2 separate regions of the Homo sapiens genome follow, and region 1 is linked to region 2. The links are contacts of gene promoters, found by promoter capture Hi-C in blood cells and fetal thymus (Javierre and others, 2016). All regions are on one chromosome and are shown on one strand. Each heading gives the region's core, a stretch centred on a gene start or on the middle of the fragment in contact. The rest is flanking DNA. Distances are from core to core; before and after follow the strand shown. Region 1 overlaps C1orf21 (chromosome 1 open reading frame 21). Region 2 holds the start of C1orf21 (chromosome 1 open reading frame 21).

Region 1 (2,700 bases), core at 120-2,619, 170 kb after region 2:
AGAAGTTCCGAGTGAGGAAGGCTCCCCTCCAACACAGAGGCATTCTTCTGACTTAGCTAAACAAGCTTCTGGCAGGAAAAATAATTTCCCTGGCACAATATGGTGCCTTATGCCAATTACCTCTGCGAGGATCCGCCCACTGGCCCTCCAGGCCATCTGGACAAAAGGGATCCCTGAGGAGATCTCACTGTAGCCACAGGCTGGGACTCCTGCTAGAGGGAGATAAAGCTTTACCATTTCCCTTCTTCTTTGTCCTGAACTGTACTCTAGAACGATCTGTAAGAAATGTCCTAATAGGTAATTGCTCTCTCCTCTCCCTCACCACCCCCCCAACCCCAAACACACACACAACACACACACATACACACACTGAGAGGCATCCACAGTGTTCACCACAGTATGGATTCTCATGGGGTTTTATTTGGCTTCTTGGCCAAATAAGCTGATGCAGGTACTTGTTGGATAACACTGTGGGGTGGGTCAGTAGCAGAGGATGTGAGTCAGGCTCCCAGTTTTAGAAAAGGAACCTGCAGTGCCTGCTGACAGGCTTTCATACCAGGTATACTCCTTGCATATTATCAAAGCATATCCAAAAACCCATTCTTGCTTCCAGAGCAAAAAGAATCAGAGAGCCTCTGCTGGTGAAGGAAGTTCTGTTCCAGAAGGCTGTGTCTGTCATGGACCCAGGCAGAGGAGAAGAACAGGAGCCTCTGCCAGAGGCCAGGCCAAGCCAAAGAATGGGAATCAGAGGACAGTCCCCTGATTATTTAAACACAAAACAGGAAGGAAGGAACCCTCCACCGTCTTGGCCACCATTGTGACCACTGCCCATTATTTTTTCAGATTTATGTGGTCAAATAATGATTTTAAATAGAAAATCTTAAAGCTATTATGTTTTATTTTGGAACTATTCCACATGTTGAGGAAGAATGAAGGAAGGGGAAACAGAATCAGACTTCTAAAGAGTGGAAAGGTGATATCTGTATCATATGACCAAGCCTAGGGAAAAACACATGAGCCACACTCACTTTTTGAAAATCTGATCCTTATTGTTAAGGAGGGTGACTATAATTTTAGAAGGGAAAAGATGAATGGAAGACTGTCTTGGCTTAGAAAACCCTTTTCTATTTTTTGTCCAACTGAATCACTCTGATAAAAGCGGCCTGAGCATCACAAGACTTAACTAACCTTTATGTCATTTCCCCTCCCACTCTGTTCCCAAAATGGCTGGTATTTTTTTATATTCATTTTTATCTTGCTCCAAACAATATGTAGTTTCTCCTCATTGACAAACATTCTGTCAACTCGTGAATTATTGCTGATTCGTTTGCATGTGTGTGAGCTGCTCTCTGCTCCCACCTTTGCACTATCAGATGGAATTTTCCACGTATATGTCTTAGCCTCCTGACGCTCATTAATGTCAATGTGGGGGTCATGAACTGTGCCATTATTGTTCTTGTAGTGTTTAGTTAGCCTGAGAAGCTCAATTTGTGTGTATGTGTGTTTTTTTCTTTTTTTTAATTCAATAGGTTTTGTGGGAACAGGTGGTGTTAACTTACATGGATAAGTTCTTTAGTGGTGATTTCTGAGATTTTGGTGCACCCATCACCCGAGCAGTGTACACTGTACCCATTGTGTAGTCTTTTATTCCTCGCCCCACTCCCACCCTTTCCTCTGAATCCCCAAAGTCCATTGTATCATTCCCATGCCTTTGCATCCTCATAGCTTAGCTCCCACTTATGAGTGAGAACGTACAATGTTTGGTTTTGTATTCTTGAGTTACTTCACTTAGAATAATGGTCTCCAGTTCCATCCAGGTTGATGTGAATGCCATTATTTCATTCCTTTTTATGGCTGAATAGTATTCCATGGTATATACATACCACATTTTCTTTATCCACTTGTTGATTGATGGGCATTTGGGCTGGTTCCATATTTTTGCAATTGCTAATTGTGTGAGAAGCTCAATTTAAAACCTCATTCCCTTCAAGTTTCAGTTTCCATTTAGGAAGTACTTAGATTGACTTTGATGACCTTTGGTTATATATTAGTTATTTTCAGTTATTTTGTTTTAACATAAAATACCACCAACAACTCGTTGGCAGTACAACCAGATAATGTAGCTGATGGAGCCATTCATTCTAGATAAAATCACTGTGATTTGGGCACAGCTCTGCAGATGTGAAGTGGGGAATTCCTGTGGAACTTGACTGGCATATGCAGTTGCCCTTAACAGGTTTCATTGTGATAAACCCCTGTCTTTTGTATGAATTCAGGCACATGTCTGTATGCAAAGTCTCATTTATATCCTGCTTTACCGTTTTGGTTTTCAACATGGTAAGAGCAAAGGGTGGCTCTCTACAGGCTCAGTTTCTCCAGCTGATTTTCTGTCTCCTCTTACTCACCACTTCTTATTAATTCATTAGCAGCCAGTACAGTAGAAGTCACCTTAGCTTTCTGTTTCCCTTTCCTACCAGCAGCCTCTTCACATCTCCTTCAAAACTCACCAATAAGCTTCTACCATGTATGTCACAGAATATAAAATCTTAATGTTCATCAGTAAATTATTCATGATTTCTATGGCCCTGATTTGTGTAATGACTGCTAATGCTTTCAGAACATTTGATCTTGACAAGGTGAAAAATCGTGCTGTTTTAAAAAAATTTTCTAGAGTAGTTGCTAGGATTTTTTAAAGCACAC
Region 2 (2,700 bases), core at 130-2,629:
TGGGGAAGATCCCTTGAGGAGGATCTCTTGGGTTCAGGAGTTCGAATCCAGCCTTGGCAGCAGACCCCATCCCTGAAAACAATAAAAATTAAAACAACAACAGTGGGATACTAGTCTTTTAATTTGAAAAAAAAAGGGGTGGAGAAAGGGAAAACCAGTTTTCAAAAAAGGCCAATTTCCTAGACATTAGTGGTTGATTACTAACTCATTTCATTAAACTAAATTATGAATTGGCTTTTCTCGTCAGTGTCACCACTCTGATGGCGTTCTTTTCCATTTTCCATCTTCACCCTGGCCGAATGTGGGAAATGATCTGGTTTGTGCATAATCCGCGAGGCCCAGGGAGGATCTTTTGCCCCTATTGTTTTCTTGGGTGTTCTCACTCTGGGGGCCTGACATTCCTCGCGTGTCTAAGGCAATGAGGGAGCAGTGAAGCGCGGGGAAGCCGCACAAAAGACATCCAAAGGCTATCAATGGAAAAAGATCAATTAGGTGCACACAAGAAACACCCAATATGCCAGGGAAGAGAAAAATACCCTTTTCCAGAGGGTGGGAAATTGATTGAGCTTCTGTGAGGGTCCACAAAGAACTGGACGGATGCAGTGGTGGATGGCGATCTCTCTGGACCACTCCGGACGCGCCCAGCAGACGCAGCCTACGCCTTTAGGTCCTAGGAGGCTGAGAAGGGTGGGGAGAGGGGGGCAGCACGATCTTGTGTCTTTCCTCCCCGTGCCGCCTCTACCGAATCGCGGATGCTTCATTAATCTTGCAGGCGCCGCAGCTCGGGTCAGTATGGAGGCGGATCGGTGGCAGAGCCCGGGCCTCTGGGCTGCGCCCGCCCGTTCAGCCTGGCCCGGGAGGGGAGCGGCCGCGCGGTGGGCCAAAGACGCCCGGCCTTCCCTCCGTCTGCTTCCAGCAGGCACAGCCGGGAGGCTGGGCTCAGGGGCTGACCCGAATCTCCCCTAGAGCTGGGCCCACCCGGCTGCCCCCCGAGCAGCCTCGCCGCTCCCACGCCACCGCCCAAGTGACAGGCCCGGGAAGGCCGGACGGGACGCAGTCTTCCCGCCGGGGTCTTCCCTCCGGCTGGCCGGCCGCTGCAGGGCGCGCGCGCACACACGTACACACACACACACACCTGCCCACACACACACACACACACACACACACACACTGCCGCCTCCTTCCCGCCCCGCAGCCCTAGCAGCCCCCAACCCGCTCCCCAGCGCGCTGCGCCCCGGCGGCCTCCGCAGGCCCCGCCCCGGGGAGGAGAGCCAGGCGCGCGCGGGAGCTAGGCTCGGGGAGGGGCCGGCGGTGGGGGAGTGTCTGCTGCCCCCGCCCCTCGAGTGAGTGACTGAGCGAGGAGCTCCCCTCCCTCGCTCGCTCCTCGCAAGCTCCCGCTCGCTCCCTGCCCACTCCCGGGGGGACGTTCCGTGCCGCGGCCGCCGCGGCCGCTGCTTCTTTCACACTTTAGTTGGGAGCTGCGCGCCGCGCTCAGTTACTGGAGAGCTGGCCGCGCGCCGCCGCCTCCCGCACGCTTGCACGCGGGCCCGGCTTCGGGGTTTTGGGTTCTTACTCCAAGCGGCGGGGAGGAGGGGGAGCCCCGGACACACTGTGGGGAGGAGGAGGAAGAAGAGGAGGAGGGAGGAAGAAAAAAGACGAGGAGGACAGGGGCGGGGGGCGGGAGGCTTGCCACCTTCAGCCCCCCCGCGAACGCCCAAGGTAAGTGTGAGCCATTGCCTGCTCTGGGGCGGGGGGAGCTGGCGGTGCAGCCCGCCCCGGCTCGGCTACCCGGGCATCCCCGGGTGGGCAGGGAGGGAGGCCTGCGGGGTGTCTGCCGCACGGAAGGGATGGGAGCCGCGGTCGTGGCGCTGCCTGCGCGGGGCCCGGGCCGGGGCTGCTGCTGGTGCGGGGCTGGCGGGGTTGCTGCCAGGGACGGAAGCTGGGGTGGGGGAGCCGCGAGGGGCGTCTGCCGGCCTGGGCGGAGGGGCTGGGATGTGGTCGGGGCTGCTGACGACTTTCGTCACATCGAGGCCTGGGTGGCTGGTGTTAGACACCCCTCCCTTCCCACCCGCACCCTGCCGCCCTCAGCCTTCCTGCTCTCCTCTAGCTTTGCATGTAGCCACCGTACTTTGCAAGCCAGAGCTTGAAAGGAAAAACACAATTTAGGATCCTTTGCTAAGTATCCAAGTCCCTTCTCTCGCTCCGACTGATTGATGTGTTTGTGTGGGTGGTTTGACCCCCGGGATTTCTGAAGTTTTGACCTTTTTGGGGTGGCTCGTTTCGTTGCATCTGTTTGCCCACCTCGGTGTATTTATTATTCGTGCCCATGCGAGGCAGCCAGAGGGTGCTTGGTTATTGTACACGAAACAGATTTCACTCTCCTCTGCAGGCAGTTCGCGAAGTGCCGCCGCCGCGGCTGCCTTTGGTCTGCTGGTTAATGTCCTTTCCCTATCATCCACCCTGCTCCCTCCCTCTACGGAGGGTTAGTTTTTGTTTTTGTTTTTGTTTTTTCCTTTCCACTTACTGTTTGTGTGAGAGAAGTCCTGGGCTTAAGGGCTCTCAGCACTCGTTCATTTCTCTTCTAAAGCTCTGAATGGCTCAGGCATGTCGGTAAAATTTGGGGTGGTCCTCTTTGCTCCAAGAGTTGCATGGCCAAAGATAAAAATATGCACACATAAACACGCATTAATTCTGAGAGAC

What was found. The method cuts DNA at HindIII sites, captures the fragments that hold promoters and counts their contacts. A CHiCAGO score of 5 or more calls a contact.
Region 1: a contact is called between a fragment that was not itself captured here and the fragment with the promoter of C1orf21 in region 2, in 5 of 17 cell types (megakaryocytes, M0 macrophages, endothelial precursors and 2 more). The highest score is 11.1, in megakaryocytes.

Annotation. Positions count from the first base shown.
Region 1 is chr1:184,555,742-184,558,441 of GRCh38, forward strand. The region is part of intron 3 of C1orf21 (chromosome 1 open reading frame 21); the gene reads left to right. Among named protein-coding and RNA genes, the nearest start is that of C1orf21, 170 kb to the left of the region's middle. The HindIII fragment of the contact is 2,286 bases long and covers 227-2,512 here.
Region 2 is chr1:184,385,650-184,388,349 of GRCh38, forward strand. It overlaps C1orf21 (chromosome 1 open reading frame 21), which reads left to right and starts at 1,380. Exons shown (of 6, transcript NM_030806.4): 1 at 1,380-1,719. It overlaps C1orf21-DT (C1orf21 divergent transcript), which reads right to left and starts at 1,055. Exons shown (of 1, transcript NR_172919.1): 1 at 104-1,055. RefSeq lists silencers at 866-925, 1,016-1,125, 1,156-1,415. The HindIII fragment of the contact is 4,352 bases long and covers 1-2,700 here.